2 separate regions of the Homo sapiens genome follow, and region 2 is linked to region 1. The links are contacts of gene promoters, found by promoter capture Hi-C in human tissues and cell types (Jung and others, 2019). All regions are on one chromosome and are shown on one strand. Each heading gives the region's core, a stretch centred on a gene start or on the middle of the fragment in contact. The rest is flanking DNA. Distances are from core to core; before and after follow the strand shown.

Region 1 (4,604 bases), core at 316-2,815:
TCACCCAACTTTAAATAAATGGGCCTGTATTTGACTTATTTGTTTTTCCTTAATAATTATCATTGTCCTTCTTAGAACTTCCTATTGTTCCTCATCATCCAGTCACTGAGGGACCTAAACAAATGTTGCAGCTCAGGCAAATCCACACTCTTATGCTACTAGAGGCTTTGTACAGTTTGATTCAGTGATCTGACAGCTGACAGGCCCTTAAAAAACACCGAACAAACAACACTGGCATTTCCCCACATTGAATTCATTTTATTATAGAAACAGTCTCACTCTCTCACCCAGACTGAAGTGCAGTGGTGACATCATAGGTCACTGTAACCTCCTACTCCTGGGCTCCAGCCATCCTCTCGATTCAGCCTCCTGAGTAGTAGCCGGGATTACACCAAGCTCGTCTGATTTTTTAAAATTATTACTCTTCTATTTTTTTGTAGAGACAAGAGTCTGGACATATTGCGCAGGCTGGTCTCCAATTCTTGACCACAAGCAACCCTTCTGCCTTGGCTTCCCAAAATGTTGGGATTACAGACATAAGCCTGTACCACTCCTGGCCTCACACTGAACTTCGACGTAACTTTATACATGGCTTCCTAGCTCAATTTCTTGAGAAAACGGGAAGAACGGAGAGCTCCCTGGGCACCACTGCTTTTCAGTGTCTTATACATGGGTCTGAGTGTTCTAAGACATCTTTGAATGGAAAACTACTTTCTCTCTTTTTTTTTGGAGGTGTAGAGAGGAATGGCGCATGATTCAACTTAATGATATTGCACCTAAGAATGTTTCTAACTGTAAGAAAACGCAGTATCAAAAAATCCAAACTTTAAAACAAGTCAACTAGGTAGCAGTTACAAAGATGCCTTGATTTACAAAAGGATTCACCAGAGGTTTTCTTTTCAGCAGCTTTGTAATCCTTTACTTTCCCCATTGCGTTTCAAAAGCTATTTACAAATTTCAGGACTCTATTTCATAAAGCAAATGTCGTTTTTAAAATGTAATAACTCTAATGATAAAAGCCACTTTAGAAATATTGGGAAATACAAATATTTGAAAAACAAAAACCATGTGCAATCCCAGCGTTAATACTCTCACTATTCTGGTACATTTCCTTGGCATCTTTTAAGCACCACTTATGCACATCGATGCGCGGGTCTTCGGAGACTGTATTTAACTCCTCGGTTTCAGGCATCCGGGGCGGCCACCCGCGGGCCGCGGTCCCCAGCAGGCTCCGGCGAGACTCCTTCCTTTCTTTTTTCTGCTCCACCTCCCTAAACCTTCCAGTTTCAGCCACAGATAGTCTCTTCCACATATAGCTAGCTTCAGCCCTCCCACATTCCATCTCAAAACAACAAAAAAAATCCCCTTCAAGCGGGAGTCACATCTCTGGCAGGAAGGCAGAGGCTCGTCCCACAGCAAGGAGACTGGGGCGGCCGCAGCGCGCGCTCCCGCTTGGGCGCGGCCCTACTCCCGCCGGGCTCCGCCCCCCCCCCGCCCCCTTCCCGCCCCCTTGGGCGGGGACGCGCCAGGGAAGCGCGCGGCCGCGAGCCCTGGGCGCCATTTTAGACTCGCTGTTTGTGGCCCAGGTGCAGGAAGCTTACGCGGTGGCAGCCGCTCGCTGAGGTAGTCTCTCGCGGCGCCGGGGATCCCTGAACACAGACAGCGCGGGACTGAGAAGGAAAGCTTCTTTCTGGGCAGCCAGAGCCGCAAAGGTGGAGCCGCGTTGGCGCCCTCCGCGGGACCAGCGCCTCGGATGCGGGCGGAGCGCGGGGGGCCGCGGCTGCGGGAGCGCGAAGCGGGGGGCCAGGGGCGCCTCATGTGAGAGCCGCGGGACCTGCAGCCGCCGCCGTCCCCGGAGCACGGGGTGGTGTGTGGGGGAAGCCGCCCCCGGCAGCAGGTAACGGCGGAGGGGCAGGGCCGAGCCCCGCTGCGACGGCGGAGCCGGGGAGGGACCGCGGACCGTCTGTGGGCGGGCCGGGGTGGGGTGGGGTGGGGGGGGGCGCGGGGGCCGGGGCGCGCGCGGGCCGCTCCTCAGGAGTGCCGGGCGGGGCGCGGGGCGCGGCACCCAGACCTTGGAGCTTGCTTGGGGGCGTTTCCCCGCCGTGCCTGCTTCCAAACATGTCAACAAGGCGTGGTGCGTGTGCGGCGGCCGCCTGCAGCCTGCCCGCGACGCCGCCGCTCCCGGGTTCGCCGCGGCTCCTGCCAGGCTTTATGACCCTTGGCGGGGGCTGGTGACAGGCACCATGGAGCTCGCACTCTGTGGGCTCTCCCGGCGTCGGCTACGCCCGTGCTGGTAGCTTGAGCAATGAGGCACTGAAATGTCAAAGCAAACTGCCCAGGGTGGGGCGCATGAGAAATGTCAGGGGAAGCCAGTCGGTGGGGAGGTGGCGCAGGGAGGAGGGGACGCCCCTGCCGCTTAGCCAGGCGAAAAACTTGGTCAACTTGTGTTGAGCGGATTCGCGTCTGCCTTTGGCGTGGGCAGTCCTTTAGGTGGGGTTGCAGACAGGGGTCAGGAAGCAGCCCAGTAAATGGTCTGTATCTCCAAGCTGAGAGGTGAGAGAGATCATTTTTATTTTGTCGTTGCTAATGATATCCAGTTGAGTGACCCAGATTTTTTAATTAGAATCCTCCTTTTCTAACTTGAAAAAAAAGTAACTTAGTTTCTGTTATCTCTGAAATATTTATAAAAATACCATCAACTATCAGTTATCTATCTATCTATATGACCTGTAGACAGATTTTCGCCACTGTGCGCTCTCTAAGCATTTAGTTGTGAGTTAACCTCTTTATAGTGTTTTATTCTTGTAGTTCAGCCAAAGAATGCATATTAGTTTGATATTAGTAAAAGCAGAACAGAAAGGAACTGTGATGCCAAAATAGGCTTTTTAGAGTTAACTACAAATGAGCATTTAAAATTATTGCATGCCCAGTGTAAAAGTGCCTAATACAACGATGCACACGGCTAGCTGTTCACTTCCGGTCTTCACCTAATGAAGTTGCTTCTTTCAAAGTTTTTTTTTTTTTTTTTTTTTTTTTGAGACAAGGACTCACTTTGTCACCCAGGCTGGAGTGCAGTGGCGCGATCTCGGCTCTAGCGATCCTCCCACCCCAGGCTCCCTAGTAGCTGAGACTACAGGCATGGGCCACCATGCCCAGCTAATTTTTGTAGAGACAGGTTTCATCGTGTTGCCCAGGCTGGTCTCAAACTACTGAGCTCAAGCGATCCGCCCGCCTTGTCCTCCCAAAGTGCTGGGATTACAGGCGTGGCCCACCGCGCCCACCTGGAAAGTTTATGGAACATAGAGTTAGTTCACTAACTCCTTGTGCTGCTCAGCTAGTCTGTGGTCTTTCCTCAGTAGTTTGCTATTTAGCAGTTTGTAGTCATATCAGTCCCTCACCAAAAGCTGTGGTGGCCTAAGTTGCATTATTTGGGGCCTAGAAGCTTTGCAGGAAATTAAACTGCCAGAGCCCTGAAGAGGCCTAGTTTTGGTGCTCTAGATTTCTAGAGTCTAGAATGTCTCATTGACGTTTTATAGTACAGCTTGGTTCTCCACACTTCTTTTCAAATATAGGAGGTGTTTTCACTTTGACAAAAGTAGGAATTATAGGGTCCATTGATGTAAATTATTTGCAGGCTGGAAGATGCTCTGAGATGTTTAATTTTATGTATAGCAGAGTTTCATGTGTAAATAGATTTAATAAGATACTATTAAAGTAGTGTAAATTTTTTCATACATAAATGAAATCAACTTGGAAAAATTGACATTTAAAATTTTAAGTGTCCACTCACTTCTGTTATTTTCATGCACAAATGAGGATAGTGCAGAGGATATTTTTATTGGAATTTGGCCTTACATTTTTTTCAATTGCTTAATGCACTATAATTGTAACATAGACATATTACGTATGACAATTAACAGACTTAATTCAGCTATTTGTAAACTGGTAAGTTCTTAAAATAGGCTTTGGTGATCATATAGTGTTTTTATATCTAGATCAAGAGATACTGTCCCTTAGTGTTGCATACTGTTAAAAAAAATTTTGTCAACTTCTTTAACCTGAACTTGGAAAGGTATTTAAGTACATTTTATTTAAAACAGTACTATAATAGACAAAAGAAAGTTTCTATTTTTAGGACCAGCAAAGTATTTATTAGCAAAGACTATTATGTGAATAAGGCTACCATTTTATTTTTGTTTATATATCCATATACTCTAAAGTAAAATGAATCATTCCGTCTTTAAGTTGTCTAGTTCTGGTTTTAGAAGATTGTTCTCCAGAAACAGGCAATCAGTATTCTATAATAAGGTGTAGAAATTGCAAAGACTGTCATTCTTTTTTGAATCTCTGTATCTCAAAATTGTGAGTAGTTTTAGGTGGTCAGAAGAGAAATTATAAGCTCTGGATAGCAAACACTTTGTTCTTTGACCCAAATTTTATATACTAAAATTAAAGTAAGCCTTCAGGGTAAGTTAAAGCAGAAAAATGGGTCATAATAACAGTGTTATCTCAGCCTCTAGTGAGGGATTATTATTAGAAGAGACTTAATATTAAAGATTACAGTGTAGACTATACACTTTTCTCTAAACTTATTAAAAAAAAAC
Region 2 (5,119 bases), core at 2,517-5,016, 560 kb before region 1:
TGACAAGTAAACACAGAAGTGAGTTCAAAAGGTTTTCTACCAGAACCAAGCAGCATTAAGCAACAGATACAATTAATTAATTAATTATTCCTTTTCACCCTAAAGGGGTGAAAATGTTTGTCTTCTCAGACTCTAGAATAGGTGGAAGCACCTGAGCACATAGAGGGCTCATGTATTCCAAATCAGATCAATGCCAATATCCCTGGATCATAAAAGGAACAATTAGGAAAATTCTTATAGTAATTAAGAACTGTGGGCTGGGTGTGGTGGTTCACACCTGTAATCCCAGAACTTTGGGAGGCCAAGGAAGGAGGATCCCTTGAGGCCAGAAGTTTAAGATTAGCCTGGGCATCAAAGGGAGATCCCCATCTCCACATACAAATTTCTTTTTAAATTAGCTGGGTGTGGTGGCCTGTGCGCGTAGTCCCAACTACTCAGGAGGCTAAGGCAGGAGGATCTCCTGAGCCCAGGAGTTTGAGGCTGCAGTGAGCTATAAGTTCTCTGCTGCACTCCAGCCTGGGTGACAGAGCAAGATCCTGTCAAAAAAAAAAAAAAAAGGAAGAAGAAGAAGAAGAAAAGAAAAGAACTCAGTATCTCATAGATGGTTAATAAGGTTCCATGAAGAAAGGATTTTGTAGCCAAGTAAGTTGGGAAATGTAACCGACTTTTGCTGATTTGGAATACACATAAGCACACTAAAGATTCTGAAAAGTTCTGTGGCAGAAAACTCTATTAAACTGTGTTTCCTAAATGTAGTGAAACACTGAACTCTTCTTTTGCAGAACATGCATTGACATCCTGTGGCACATAGAACACAGGTTGGGGAATGCCAAGAGTGGTGCTGTAAGCTCCTCAGAACAAGGGAAACATGACTTTCTCCAAAGAAGAGAATACATGTGATGTGTCTTTTAGAATGGCACTCTTCTGAAAGTCAAACGGGGATAATATAAAAAATGAAAAGTATATAAGTTTTAAACTTCAAAGTAATTTTTTCAGTCATAAAAATCTTTTGACTGAAAAATTATCATATTGATAGACCTATAAAATTGCACTGTTTAAAAACTATTTTCAAAAAGTAATTTTTTTCCTTAGAAAAGGGAGAAAAAGAAGACACATCCAGAACAAATGCTAGACTAAATAGGATGTGCAAGACAACAAGCATAAATTAGAAGTGTAAATCGGGAGACCAGACATTTGGGGAATGCCACCTTACCCTCCCCCCCGACGACATTTGGTGAATGTCCCTTAACAAATGGCATCAATGTGCTTCTTCCTGATGCTGCAGGATTTTGTAACACAAGTTCAACTGAACAACTGTATTTCCACCTCTTTATACATCCACACCAACTATATCATAGACCTCAGAGCAGGTCCTGGGAATAAAGAGGTGAGCAAGCTTTCCTGCCTTTAGTGGGTTTGATCTTATCCTGTTACCTTGTTCACACCATTTTGGTAGTTTTCTTAATGGAAAGTTTGGGATAGAATTAAAAGGAACAAAATTCTGAAAGTGCCTACAAAAACATTTATTAATATTTTGGAGTCAGTTGGAAAACTGATTTTGTCTACCTTATTATTAATTGCCTTGCATTTTTTAATGTGCTGAGAAAGCATACTTTATCATTACTACAGTTACATAGATATAAATAGAAATCAGTGTACCTTATATTTCTTTCAGCAGATCTGTTGGTTTCTGTATATACACCTGGTTTAGGTGGATGTATCTGCCTATATTTTCAAAGTTAGAAGATTATATCAGTCAGAAAAGAAAACACTTTTTGATAAATTGAAATTTATTTTAAAAAATTTATGTACAAAAAGATCAGTGTTTGTTGGAACCATAACACTACCTGAGATAACAAACTTAAATTCTTTGGGTTGGCGGGAACTCCAGTATACTGAGTTTGTAATTTAATCTATCTTTATCGCATATTTGTAAACCACTGGATCTATCTAGACTTATAAGTTCTAAATATGTTTATGTTGTTTTTTGTTCTCCATCAATAAAGCATTTTCATACTTATCTCTATCAGATAATGATATAACATTTTAAAATATTAATTTTTGTTATGGGCATCAAAGGGATTTTTTTCTTAAAGAATTATCCCATTTGAATACTATCAAGAAATATATTTGTTCATAAAAGGTGGGAAGAAGAGTCTATGTTTCAAGTACACCTACTACATTGGGAATGACCATACTAAGCTGACAGAATTAAATTTTATTATGTTAGGTTCTGGCACAATTTAAGACTTTTCTCTACTCTTTTTTAAAGTATCTGGTTGACCTACTTATACATTCCTACTTGTTCTCAAGAAGCTATATTCGACTATTTTTTGTACTCCTGAGGACATGTGTTAATTACATAGGAAACACTTCCATTTCATATTCTTTCATTAAAATCATCTTGCTGTGATTAAAGTAGTCAGGACTTTAAAAAAACATGCAAGTTGTCCCAATTTTATTTTTTAGATCATTGGTAGAATAAAGAAATTTGAGTAGTAAGTTCCTGTGAAATTTAGCTTCCTTTAAATTTAAACAAGCTTGTAGCTCTAGTGATGCTGATTTTAGATTAGAATATCGGTGGTACTAAGGCCAATTAATTTTAGCCCCTTAAAACAATTCTATTCAAATTGGGATTTAATTGCTCAATACTAGAAGAGTTAGAGGAAAAATAATGTAAGATTAAAAAGCTTGAGAAGATATTTTTAAGAGATCATTATAACCATCATACAAACAAAAAGTTATAAATCTGATCTATATTTTTAATTAGTTCAGTGAAGAAATATTCTCTTGACTCAATTTAAAAAATTATGCTCTCATCCTATGGACAAAATTTCAAAGATCCTGTGCAGTTTCACTGAACAGAAATTCAAACCTGGAGTTTTAACACCTATTGCTACATGGTCCTGCTGCCCAGTCAAAACTTTGTAACTGAAGTTACTCTCTTAATGAAGAATATTTCTATAATTGTGTCTACTAAAAAGTAGTTCTATGGTTGTGTCTTATTAAAGAATAGTTTCATAATTGTGTCTTACGTGGTGTCAAAAAAATCACCATCGAAGAGCAAAAATACAAAAGAAGCAACAGTAGGCAATCAAGGAGATGTAATGTAGTCAATCTCCGTTGAGTTACTATTTTTTAATCTCACAATAATAATGGAAATGTGGGGTGTACATCTTGAAAAATTGTTCAAGATATATTAAACAGTTTAAATGTAACACATGGGAAGAGTTCAGATCTCTGAATTTGTTTCCAAGTATTAATTATAGAGTGACAGAGATTCAAAGCTGAGAAGCAAGTCTATTTTTCCTGATTCAGAGACAAGTCAATTAGAACATCTTTCAAAATTTGTGATAGTTTTGAAATAAATTACAAATCCCTTCAGTAAAAAAAGATTAAAGAACTACTCAAAGGTATTTGTAACATAAGCAAGGATTTGAGTGGTAACACAAAGTTTCAAGAACATCGTTCATCAGAATCTGTATCTCTTAGTGGGAAACTTAACTTGGAACAAACATGAACAAAAAATACATTTTTAATATGGTTTATATGTATATTATATGTGATACATGTCAAATACATATATGTATTTATATTTGTATATTAGGAGCAAATATATAAAAAGTCTGTGTACAAACACTTTCTGAACATGAATATTGTTCCATTTTTATCTTGAAGGCATATTTTCTTAAGACAAGTTAGCCATTAGTATTCAAAGACAAACATAAATAAACATATGTGTTGGGAAATAAAATTAGAAAAAGTTCTACAGGCGCTTCTTTAGGGAATGTGCACACAAAACATTCATGCTTTGCCCACAGCGGGTCACAGTCCATTTACTTTCATTTCCCTTGAACTTCATTTTGTCAAGAAATTCTGGAGTACTAGGTCTTACCTATTATCCTGTCTCAGCTGGTTAGGAGAAGAAACAGGAGAACTGGGCTTTGGAGGTATTGGAGGGTGAACACCTGGTTCCCTTTAAAACAGAAAACAGCAGTTCATTTCACCATGGAAACATGGTAAATTTTAGCATCTATTAACTGAATGCATTTATTGCCTACATAAAAATATCCTTTGCATCTTACAACCCCCATGTGTGAGGTACCTGAAAGGTCAGAATCCATGGAGCACTAAACTTTAAAGAAGTCAAATATTGAAAATATGTGTATTTTTAAAGTTTATTTAATCAGGTTCTTGAAAACCCAATCCTCTTTCACTATAGTTTGGACTATACTATGTTCTTTAAATAACTCAATATTTTGCTAGTATATCTAGCTCTAGTCATGGCATTTCAGGTCAGCAGTGCATGAGAACTGTAAATGGTCCTTGGGTATTAATATATAAGCTTCTTTGGGGATTATGTCAACTATCAGGCTGCTATGGAAACAGCAAGAAAAGGCTTTAATTTCAGAGACCTCAAGGTAGCATTGATTTGAAGCTCTTAACTAAATCTGACTTAAATATTGTCAGCACAGGCCACTTTGATGCTGACAAAGCATATATACAATCTACCGTCAGCCTAAACTTTCCAATGAAGCACCACAGCAGTCTCTGAGTTGGCAGGACTTAATGAGGTAGGAACTGGAGATGGGCAATTATGTGCACATTTTGGATGGAGTCAGCACCTTACTAAGAGTATGTCACTCCCCTGTGTTCCCCACCACTACCACCCCAGCAGTTCTCTATTTGTCCTCAACATAAACTCTGTACCTGGTAAAAGAACCCTCTGATCCTGTGTACCCTTCTGGCTTCTGTAGCAATGGTAGATAGGCATGTGGGCTAGAGTCAGGCTGCCTGAATTGCCAGCTGTGTGGTAACAGGTTAACTTGATTCTGTTTCTTCATCTGTAATAATCTTTCTAATAGGATTGTTGGGGTATTGTCAGGACTGAATGAGATTGTGTTTTTACTCAACAAACATTTATTGGTAGCTTTCTATGTGCAAGGAAGGCTCTCTGTGAGCTGGGTAATGTCCTTGTTCTCAAAGGCTTTCAATATACAAATAAATATATGTCAGAAGAAGAAAAGTGCTGTGCAAATAATAATAATAATAAAACAGAATAAGGAGATATAGACTGATGGAATGGGAAGATTATTTTATTTAGAATGGACTGGGAAGG

Evidence for each region. The method cuts DNA at HindIII sites, captures the fragments that hold promoters and counts their contacts. A contact is called where the count stands out against the background at its distance.
Region 2: a fragment that was not itself captured here is called in contact with the fragment with the promoter of FBXL3 in region 1 in 1 of the 25 tissues and cell types used here (H1 embryonic stem cells).

What each region holds. Positions count from the first base shown.
Region 1 is chr13:77,024,120-77,028,723 of GRCh38, reverse strand. It overlaps FBXL3 (F-box and leucine rich repeat protein 3), which reads left to right and starts at 1,565. Exons shown (of 5, transcript NM_012158.4): 1 at 1,565-1,897. RefSeq lists silencers at 1,445-1,494, 1,665-1,944, 1,965-2,024. The HindIII fragment of the contact is 16,155 bases long and covers 1-2,563 here.
Region 2 is chr13:77,588,001-77,593,119 of GRCh38, reverse strand. It overlaps SCEL (sciellin), which reads right to left. Exons shown (of 33, transcript NM_144777.3): 10 at 3,896-3,976; 11 at 1,660-1,725. Among named protein-coding and RNA genes, the nearest start is that of SCEL-AS1, 16 kb to the left of the region's middle. The HindIII fragment of the contact is 3,596 bases long and covers 1,969-5,119 here.